2 separate regions of the Homo sapiens genome follow, and region 2 is linked to region 1. Evidence: promoter capture Hi-C in human tissues and cell types (Jung and others, 2019). All regions are on one chromosome and are shown on one strand. Each heading gives the region's core, a stretch centred on a gene start or on the middle of the fragment in contact. The rest is flanking DNA. Distances are from core to core; before and after follow the strand shown.

Evidence for each region. The method cuts DNA at HindIII sites, captures the fragments that hold promoters and counts their contacts. A contact is called where the count stands out against the background at its distance.
Region 2: a contact is called between a fragment that was not itself captured here and the fragment with the promoter of BATF in region 1, in 4 of the 25 tissues and cell types used here (adrenal gland, dorsolateral prefrontal cortex, heart left ventricle and 1 more).

The regions. Positions count from the first base shown.
Region 1 is chr14:75,519,418-75,524,933 of GRCh38, forward strand. BATF (basic leucine zipper ATF-like transcription factor) reads left to right here and starts at 3,052. Exons shown (of 3, transcript NM_006399.5): 1 at 3,052-3,328. The coding sequence starts at 3,266. It overlaps LOC105370572 (a long non-coding RNA gene), which reads left to right. Exons shown (of 3, transcript XR_944037.3): 3 at 1-357. RefSeq lists an enhancer at 3,020-3,349. The HindIII fragment of the contact is 4,535 bases long and covers 597-5,131 here.
Region 2 is chr14:75,348,051-75,353,566 of GRCh38, forward strand. No RefSeq gene overlaps it. Among named protein-coding and RNA genes, the nearest start is that of LINC01220, 56 kb to the left of the region's middle. The HindIII fragment of the contact is 4,553 bases long and covers 708-5,260 here.

The DNA of each region.
Region 1 (5,516 bases), core at 1,802-4,301:
TTTAAAAATAATGTATAATTAATACTATTAAATAAGACCCGTCTTTTTATGTAAAAACTAATTTTGCATTTCTCTCATTAGTCTCTGTTAAATATTAAATCAGTACATTGATTGGGAATGACAGAATCAAGCAATCATTCATTCAACAAGTGTTTACTTGTTGAATGATAGGATGTTCAAAGAGCTAAGAACTTCATCCATACGCTGTAATACTTAGAACGCTTGTAACATTTATAATAACCTGTTTGGTTATTTGACTATGTTTTCTTTTTTCTGTGAGAGCAGAGTCTCTGTCTTATTCATATTTAAGAATTCTGCTCTGTAATAGGTGATAAATAAATGTTAATTTAAACCGAATGAAACATAAATATGACTATTATTGTCCTGAAAGGGCTTTCAATACACTAGGATAATGCAGGTCATAAGTGCCATAAATGAAGAGCAAAGTGAATTCACTTATGCATTCATTCGTTTGAAAACCATTTACTCGGCATCTGTTAGGTACTGAGCATATGACTATAAACAAGAGAAACACAGACTTTGGTTTTTACAGGGCCCACTTCTCACCACTTTCATCACTGTCTAACTGGCCTATGCTGCCAGCATCTTTTGTTTGGATGGTTGCAGTAATCCAATACTGAAATCCTGACTCATCTCCCTGCTTCCACTTTGCTCCCCTATCGTAAAATCTCAACTGTGTCCAGAGAGATCCTCTAAAAACCTAAGTCAGATCATGTCACTCCTCTGCTCTGACACCTCCAATGGCTTCTCATCTGTAGGAGATTGTAGAAATTGCCACAATTAGTTAAATTTTTCCTATCGAGAAGTGAAGTCTGTTTCTCAACTCATTGAGTCTGAACTGGCCTTGTGACTCTCCTCGGCCAATAGAATGTGGCAGGTTCTGAGTTCTGTGCTAGCTCTGAGCCTGGGTTCCATGGGGCTTCGAATGCTTCTGCTCCTACTCTTGGAATCCTGCCACTATCAAATAAACATGCTCCGACCAGCCTGTTGGTGGATGAGAGACCATGTGGAGGAGAAATGCCCAAGGCAAAGCCAGGCCAGACCAGTCAATTATCAGCCAACCTACCAGCTGTCTGAGGACACATGACCGAGCCTAGCCGAGATCAGCCTAGCCCAGCCTATCCCCAAAGAACCTTTCAGATGACCCACAGACTCATGAGCCAAATAAATGGCTTGAGTCATCGAAGTTTCTGGTAGTTTTTTGGGCAGCGAACACTGATAGACTATCTCATTTAGACAAAAAGTCAAGCTTCTTTTTACTAACTGTATCCTCAGTACTTAGTGCCTGGCACATGGTAGATGCACCATGAACGTTTGTTGAATATATTAATAAAGGTGTAAATGGTTTTAACATTCTATTGAGGGAAACAGGAAAAAGATAAATCAGTAAACGAATAAAATAAGTATAAAATTGGGTAACTGCTATGGGAGAAATGAATAGTAGCTGAGGTAGAGGATAAGAATGAAGGTGGAAGGGGAAACCCTCCATGGGCTCACTGTGTCTTTCAGAATGAAAGCTAAAATCCTGATGTTGGCCTCTAAGGCCCTCCCTGACCGGGCCATTACCTCACTGACCTCATCGCCTGCCACTTTTGCTGCCTCTGATATCCAACTACCTGGCCCCCCTGCTCTTTTTCCAATACTCAAGCACACTTCCACCTCAGGTCCTGGAATGTCCTTCCCTGAGACACTCACCATTCACTCCCTCTCTTTCTTCGAATCTCTGCTCAGGTATCCCCTCTTTGGGCAAGGCCCTTCTGACCACCCAGAATTCCCTAACCTCCAACCCTGCTTTATTTTCCTCCATAGGAAAGGAATTTTGTCTTACTTAATTTAACCTTAGGGCAATATTGTCTTAGTCTAGAAATTCAGCTCATGGATACAAAAATCCTCTAGGAGCCGTAACTTCCTGTCAATCCTAAAATTTAATAAGGCAAATGTTTGGCTTCGAGCCATACTGGGAATAAGGTAAGGCCTTTTGAAAAAGCCACGATGCCCAGGTGAGGGTTGAATTGATCACTGAGAACCCTACAAATGCGCTCATGGCAAGGCTGGGAATACCCTACACTTACCCTCTCGGTCATTTACTTCAGAGTCTGCGGGGCATTCTAATCCGCGTTGTCATTTGCTTTGTGCCACATTCCTAAGAGGTAGGCAGGGCAGGTTTTATCATCCTCTGTTTACAGATGAAGATAATGAAGGTCACATAGCTCAAGTGAGCTACCCAGGGCCACAGACATACAAAGTGGTAGAACCAGAATTTAAATCTTGGTTGGTCTGACTCCAAGTGTAGTATTTGTTTCACTTTTTCTTTCTTTCTTTCTTTCTTTTTTTTTTTTAACTGTTTCTGCATTCTGGGTTCTGACCAGGTGACCTTGAATCATAAAGATTCAGGGCCTGTCTTGAGCTGCTCAATATGGAAGGCATCTTTTCTCTAAAGAGTGTGAGCTCCCTGCCAAGCAGCACAGGCGCTTAATAGGCTTTCAGAGCAGCAATTCTAGAACCTCCCTTGTGGCTTTCTGATCTCCCACAGCCCTTGTGTTTGATGGTCAGGAAAGGAGAATACCCTTGGATCGTCTTATCTCCAGACCACCCCGAGGCTGGCTGGACTTAAGGGGTGAGGAAAGACAAGATGGGTGAGCAGCTGCTTTCGGCTGAAAACCAGAAAGAAATCCCAGTGTTTTTGCTTTATTTTGGTTTAAAAATCAAGTCGTATGACAATGGAAACATTTTCCTGGTTGTCCTCTCCTCTCTGCCCATGTTGACAGAAGACGGACTTGCTAATTCTGGCTGGGGTTTTTCCCTGCCTGGGCTGTTTTTCTCTTTTATCTTCATCAATTGAAGAGGGCTGCTGTGTCTTTCAAACTGTCGGAAGGTATCTGTATTTTTTTTTCTTTCACATAATTCTGTAGGTCTTTTCCCAGATATGTATTTTTCTCTCTAACTTCTAACTCGCTGAAGTTTCCGCCCATGTGACTTCCAGCGTGAGTTACCAGAAACCACAAGAGAGAGAGAGAGCGTGCAAGCCCCAAAGCGAGCGACATGTCCCTTTGGGGAGCAGTCCCTCTGCACCCCAGAGTGAGGAGGACGCAGGGGTCAGAGGTGGCTACAGGGCAGGCAGAGGAGGCACCTGTAGGGGGTGGTGGGCTGGTGGCCCAGGAGAAGTCAGGAAGGGAGCCCAGCTGGTGACAAGAGAGCCCAGAGGTGCCTGGGGCTGAGTGTGAGAGCCCGGAAGATTTCAGCCATGCCTCACAGCTCCGACAGCAGTGACTCCAGCTTCAGCCGCTCTCCTCCCCCTGGCAAACAGGTAGAGTCCTCCTTTTTCTCTCTCCTACCTTCTGATTCTCCTGGGGGATGGAAAGAGAGCCAGGCTTCCTTGTCCTGCCCAGGGAGCTGAGGATGGAGGAAGTGGCTCGTTGCACGGGCACTCTGTTAGACTTAGGACATGGAATTTGCTACTAAGCTGTGCATATTGGCAGAGATCCTCATCCTTCCACCCATTCTGCCAAAGCCCCTTTTTCTCTCCATTTTCCAAGGCTGCCTATCACCTCTGCCTCACTGGGGTTGCCACCCTAAAAAGCTTTCTAGGAAGCAAAGAGGAGGATGAACATCAAAGAATGCAGAGAAAAGAGTCTACTGTTCTCCAAGGCTGTAGAAAAGTGAGAGGAGTTTTCAAGTGGGCCGCTGGCATGCACAGCTCAAATCCTAGATATGCAGTTTCCCAGGAGACAGCCAATAGGGAAGGGGAGAAAAGGGGTTAGGGAAAAGTTAAAAAAAAAAAAAAAGAAGAAGAAGAAGAGGAAGAAGGAGGAGGAGGAGGAGAAACCCAGGCTAGCATAGAAGGATCTCTCTACTGGGGCACTGCCTCTGTTGCTAGCACAGCCAGCAAGGGGAGATGCTAGAGGTCCAGCCAATATCTCTTTGCTTGTGGCTTCTGGATAGGAGCAAGGAAATGAATGAGGAGGTGGCTCTGGAAATTTGTTGGAAGACATTTGCTGGTAGTTCATCTTAGCTCTGGGGAAACCAGAGAGACTGAGATAGGGATTGTGGGAGCATTTGGAGTCTAGATTGTGACTTCCAAGTCCAAAGGTTTTAGCTTGAGGATTACCAAAAAAGGAGTGCCCTGCCCATCTCACAGCTTCTAGGGTTTTGTTCTGCACCACACTCTTGACATCCCTTGCTGTAGGAAGCCCTCCTCTTTCTCATCCGACATGTATCCGTGGGTTAAAATTTTCTCAACCTTCATAGTTTAAAAACTTCATTCTTTCCTTAGCACAGATATCCACAAGGGTTTTCAAAATGCTGCAGCCAAAATAAAAGTATATAAATATTGAACAGGGCGTATATCCTAAGCCTCTAATAACGGAGCAGCAGGCTGGGATGAGTCTGGGTGGAGACCTCTAGAAGGCACAGAATCCAGTCTGCTGCTCAAGATGGTGTCAGAGTGGCTCTGACTGCCTGGAAGTTTGTACTTTTCTTAGGAAGGAAATTACTCATGGCTTCCATGGTAACCTGGTGCCCCATCCCCCTTAGAGGAAGAGCACTTCCTTCCTATCTATGCCAATGACCTCCTACCACAAAGGCCTGAAAGTATTGGACATGTTGGTGAGCCCAGTACTTAGTGATCCCAGAGCTTTGCCCTTGGATCTGTGCCCCTCTAGCCTGTGGGAGACGTGGAAGGGAACAGGGCATGAGTTGCCAGGACTCCTACACCTACACTGCAGCATCTGGGAGAGAACTGGAGCTAACCTCTCTGCCCAGGCACAGGACATGCCTCTCTCTGGGTGTAATTAGAGAACACCCAAAGATCCCCTTATCCTACCAAGCACCCATCTACTGCCCACCACAGCCAGGTCACCTCCACCATTAACGTTCTTTTTGGCATTGATGTGCCAGGCATTGTGCTGGGGCCATGGGGAATGTCACAGTGGCTGAGCACAACGGAAGGAAAGAGGAGGCAGATCTGGGATGCACCCTCAGCTCAGGAATGCAGCAGAAGACCACATGGGGTGCAGAGTAGCTAGCGGGGAAGGGTCTTGGAAAGCCATTGGGCTCAGCACCAGAAGATGTAGCACTCTCAGATGACCAGGAGTCCTTGGGCACACTCTTAGAGCCTCAGTTTCCTCACATATAAAATGGAAATGATGATATCAACTTCACAGCATTGGGGAATTAAACAAGAGCACTTCTGAAAGAACACTTGCCCAGAGGTTGGCATATAGTAGGCACTCAACAAAGTCTGAAAAAAAGAAAACAGCTAAAAGAACAGCAAGAAGAGCCTAAAGGCCAAAAAGTGAGAGGGCGAGGGTGGAGCAGCCCTACAGAGGAGAGGTGATAAAACACACTTCATCGCCTTAACCATTTTTTTTTTTTTTGGCCAAATACAGCTCTATTGAGTCCTCAAGTTCTCTTTTCTTTTTCCTGTAGCTATTGGTCAAAAAAGTCAGAGACCTGGGAATGTGTAAGCAGGCATGGAGAAGAGCTCTCCTTCGGGT
Region 2 (5,516 bases), core at 1,734-4,233, 170 kb before region 1:
TCAGGCTGACCCCAAATTGCTGCCCCTGCTCCCAGCCTCCAGAGCACTGTCACCATTGCCATCAGACATACTACCTCTTCCTCAAATGCCCCTGAACTGGCCCTTTGCTTCGGTCACTCATTCCAGCCTCAAAATCCCTGGTAGGAATGGCTGATTAGCTGAGCCTAGGTCACGTTCCCAGGCCTGCTCAGTGTGGCGGAGGTCAAAAAGAGAACCTCCTCATTTCCATTTCTGGAGGTGGTTGGAGATGGGGAGGGACTGCATTTATCCCATACCGCACAATGGGGAGTTGTCCCAGATGATTAAGGGAGTTAATGCTGGACAATCAAAAACTCCTGATGGATTTCTACTCTGAAGAGCATCTGGGGCATGTTTGATGTTGTACAGACAGCAGACCCTACCCACTACTTCATTCATGGTGCCTGGTTGGAGACTGAGGAAGCCAGGCACCACCATCATAAATCCTCAGACCTCATCACGAAATACCTGATGGTTCTGGAGATAAGTACCTGCTGCCTGGGCCTCTTGGTAGGCCTTGCTGCCCTGGGGCTGGTATGGGGCTGGAGCGGATCCACAGCCAGACACTTTATGAGGCAACCAGAAGAGAGGTTAGAAACATGGAGATGCCAGCCTTCCCCACATGTCAGTCTGGGAGAAGCATGGCGGAGGATAATCCCAGGAGTTAACTGGCAAAGGAACAAAGGAAGAGGCATGATCACTTGTACTGGGAGTCAAGACCATGCCCTGGGTGATACCCCCTATTCCCCAATAACAAGCAATTAACATTTGTGTGAGGTTCCTATTTTTTAGGCACCTTCCTGTATGTTTGACAAAAAAAGGGTTTTTTTGTTTGTTTGTTTGTTTGTTTGTTTGTTTGAGATGGAGTCCTGCTCTGTCACCAGGCTGGAGTGTAGTGGTGCTTTCTCGGCTCACTGCAATCTCCATCTCCTGGGTTCAAGTGATTCTCCTGTCTCAGCCTCCTGAGTAGCTGGGACTACAGGCACTTGCCACCATGCCCGGCTAATTTTTGTATTTTTAGTAGAGACAGGGTTTTACCATATTGGCCAGGCAGGTCTTGAATTCCTGACCTCAAGTGATCTGCCCGCCTCGGCCTCCCAAAGTGCTGGGATTACAGGCGTAAGCAACCGCACCCAGCCAAGAAAAGGATTTTAAATGGCGAAATAATAATATAGTAAATGTTTTCCTTAGGTTTGAATGAGGTTATACAAGATGGGGTCTTCTTGAGGGCAGGGACCACTTTTTTACTTGCCTTTGCCTCTCTGGTGTATAGCATAACAACTGGGGGATGATTAAGTGCTCAGTAACTGTTTATTGGATGAACGAAGACTAGCAATTGTGTGAGAACCAATGTCATTAAGTTGATACTTAGGGGCAGGTTGAGCAGCTGTGGTTGGGCTGCTTGGTTGAGACAAGGTTGAAATTCTTCAAGATATGGGGCTTATTGAGGGGTTAGGTTGCAGACCAAGCACTCCAGGCTGAGAGGTGATTGCTATGTGTTCACCAACCTCCATTTCCTTTTCCTTTTGGGCACATGGCTAGATTACATTTCCCAGCCTCTCTTGTAGTTTGCTGGGGCATGTGACTCAGTCCCGACCAGTGGGATGCAGGTGAAAGTGCCGTATACCACCTCTGGTCCTGGTTCCTAAAAGTGTCCCCTGTGATCCATCACTCTCTCTGGTCTTTCATCTGCTGGCTGTACACTGAGGATGTAGTGGGGGATTCCAAGTCTTAGGAGATAACAGAGCCACTAGGGAAAGGGCTTGGGTCCCTGAATGACTATATGGAGCAGAGTTCCTCACCTTTGATTTCTCATTGATCTGTGACAGAAGTAAGAAATTAACCTGTATTGTGTTAAGCCACTGAGATTTTTGGTTGTCACAGAGTGGTCATTAGCTACCCTACTACAGGACAACTCATTTTAATCTGGGGAGGGAGAGAGTGGTGCTAAGTATTGCTAGTTATGGCAGAGGCCTGGCTGCAATTTTCCTCCCCTAAACTGAAAACAAACAGATGTGCTCACAGACATAGAGAAGTTAGGAGAGAGAGAACCAATTGTCAGGGAGGACTTGGGACCCTTCTAAGCTTGAAGGTTTTAAGGTGACAGGGATATATCCAAGTGGACGTTCTGTGGGCCGGGCCTGAGATTTAGTTAGAATTTGTCCTCAGAGAAGTGGTCACTGAAGCCATAAGAGAAATGGCCTACTTGAGGAAGAGCTTATGAAGGGAAAATGGTGTGGCATCCAGGACTGAGTCCTGGTGACTTTCCAGAGTTAGAAGATGGCAGGAGGGGGAGGAGGAGCTGGTGAAGGTGCCATCTGAGCAGTAGGAGGAGATGCCTGTAGAGACACACCAGCCAAGGGTGGAGGAAGATTCCAGTAGTAGGTGGGGATCACATACAGAAGAGATTAGACCTTGGATATTGAAGAGACTCAGAAAGGACCTTCCTTCTCCAAGGACCGAGATGAATGGAGAGAAAAGGCCACATGTGAGGGTGGAAATATGGAGGAGATAAGAGGAGAAGCCAACCTTCTCTACAAAATGATAGAGCTGCTGGCTTGTGATTGGCAGGCAATTGTATCATTGTAGCTGGGTGATCTTGCTTTGCTATGGCTGCAAACTGAGCTCTCCAGGCATTGGTCTGAGTGATTTGCACCAGAGGGTGGGGAATAGGGGAGTTGCTTTGGTATTCTGGTGTCTGGAGCTTGAGATAGGGGAGAGAGAAGGGCAAAGGAGGGGTAGCATGAGATCCCTGTGAGCAGAAAGGGGCCAGGACTCAGCTGAACTTGGGCATAATTGCATGACTTAGCTAAATTTGGGTATAACAGCTAATGTGACTTCATCTTGTATGCAGAATCTGGTGAGGTTACACAAGTTAAACTCCACAGTTCCTTTGGTCATATGGGTATATAACACAGGCAGGCTGTTCTACCAGAGAACCCCCCAGTGTGGGTTTGGGCATACTTAATTTTACTAAGCTTTACTTTCTTTATCTGTAAAATGGGCCTTAAATAATTCCTACCTCAAAGGGCAATTGGTAGTATTAAATTCAGTAACATTCAATAGTGCATATAAAACACCTGATGCAGAGTAAAAGACTCAGTGAAAGTAGCTCAGTCTTATTTTATAGCTTGACTTTAGGAGCTCTGACATTTTGCATAGAACTTTGCCTTGTACAAAAAGCTTTCACATATGTTATATCAAATAATCCTTTGGCTCTGAGCTTTCATCCTTTTTTAAAATTCACACAGTAATGGGGGCATGCTGATTTAAAAAATGAAGAAATTCATAGTGGCTCCAAGTAACTTCTTCTAAGATCCAATTCAGTAGGAAAGAGAGCATCTGTTTCCCCACAGACCAAAGTTTAGGCCTGGCTGTCATTGGTTCAGATGGACGGTGTTTCTATCCTCCAACCAGTTGCTGTGGTGAGGAGAATGGAGTGCGTTGATTGGTTGAGTCCTAGGTTTGTGCTCTACTCTGAGGCCAGGAGAGGCCTCCATCTGAAGCTTTGGGAATGGGAGTGGGGTACCATGTTCTGTAGGGGAAATCAGGGCATCATTCCTGAAGATAGCATGAATGGAAGCTGGGTAGCAACAACAGCAGATATTCCTGAGTGTCAATGCTTGTCCAGAAGGGTGGGGTCTCCATCAGGTTCTCCAATCATATGCTTTCCTATTCCTCTAGTACAGAAATGTACCATGAACAGTCTTTGGTTCTCAGCTTTGGGTAAGGGCTGGAAAATCTCACAGCTGCAGCTGCCTTGACATCAGAGAGCGTAAAAGGACAAGGGCCTAGTATACAGAGGGATAAAGGATGTGACCTGGGGTCTGTCACAAACATTTTTAAGGCAGTTATGTGTGCCAGGCTCTGTGTTAAGTGCTTTCCTGGATGAGCCCGTTTTATTATCCTATGGCCAATGCCAAGGTAGGCATTGGCACTAATTTCCACATTGCAGGGGAGAAAACTGAGGCACATTCACAGAGGTTAAGAATTTTTTTTTTTTTTTTTTGTAGAGACGGGATTTCACCATGTTGCCCAGGCTGTTCTTGAACTCCTGCCCTCAAGTAATCCTCCCGCCTCAGCTTCCCAAAGTGCTGAGATTACAGGCAAGAACCTCTGTGCCCGGCTATAAGGGTAAGAAATTTTCCCACTCAAGGACACATGCCAGTAAGTGCCAGATCAAGAATTTGATCTGAATCATTTAATTTTTAGACTTCAAAAGACTGACAACCCAGGAGAAACTGAGGCAGCACTGGCTGTTGGGAGAGGAGCCTCTCAGAAGCACACATATAGGGGACTGCCGTTGGTTTGAGGCAGCTGGAAACAATCTTTAATAAGCAGCCCTCAGGACAACCAGTGACTCCTTTGCAGCAGGTGAGGGAGGGGCTTCTGGGAAATTCATTCGAACCACACCAACTCTCTTTAAGGTGGAGATGGATAATGGCAACCCACCCTCTCTTCCCTTCCCCATCACCTCCTGCTCTGTGTTAAGGCACAGCCAGGCTTCCCAGTGAACCTCCTACTCTCAAATGAGCCCTCTCACCTCTGGAGGGGCTGGTGGCCGTTGCTCCGTGGCCTCCTTCAGGGAGGCCTTACCTGGCCCTCCAGCCTAGATGGTGGCCTCTCATTGCCTTGGCCTCCTTGATTATTTTCCCTTAGCATCTGACATATATTGTTTATGTGTTATCTGCCTCTCTCAGTGGAATGGAAGCTCCAGAAGAACAGGATTTCACTTTGTTCAGAGTTGTATCCCTAGTGCCTAGAACAGTACTTGGCACATAGTAAATGCTAGTAAATATTTGTAGAATGCATGCCTGTTTCCCATCCAAGTACTAACCAGGCCCGACCCTGCTTAGCTTAGGAGGCTGAGGCAGGGGAATTGCTTGAACCAGGGAGGTGGAGGTTGCAGTGAGCTGAGATCACCCCACTGCACTCCAGCCCAGGCGACAGCAAGACTCCATCTCAAAAAAAAAAAAAAAAAAAAAAAAAAAAAAAATGCATGCCTGTTTCCCAGGCACTGTGCAATTTTTGCCTATACTATCTCACTGAATCCTCAGAGGTCTGTGGTTTGTCCGCAGTGGGCCCTAGAACCAATTTCGGTGGGTAGAGCAGAGGCCTGAGCTCCCTGCCTGCCCCCATTCCCCTAACGGGCTGGTGTAAGAAGTCTTAAGGAAAGACCCACCAGGGTTAATAGGCTGTGAAATTCACAAAGCCAGGTGTTCAGGGGGTTTCACCCTGGCTGTTGTTAAGGGCACCATCTGATTGCGGCAGCTTCACACCTTCCTTAGTGTGTACGTCTTCGGGGGTACAGGACAATCACAGCTCCCAGGACCTTCTTTTCAGAAATTAGCAACGTGCCAAAGAGGAGAGAACCGTCCGTGGAGGATCTGGAGGGACGTTGGGGTGGGGGATTTGAGGGCAGTGGGCCCAAGTGGGGAGAGGGCCTTTTTGGCCTCCTTTCCTCTCCTCCTCCATGCTTGCTCCTGGCCTCTACCACC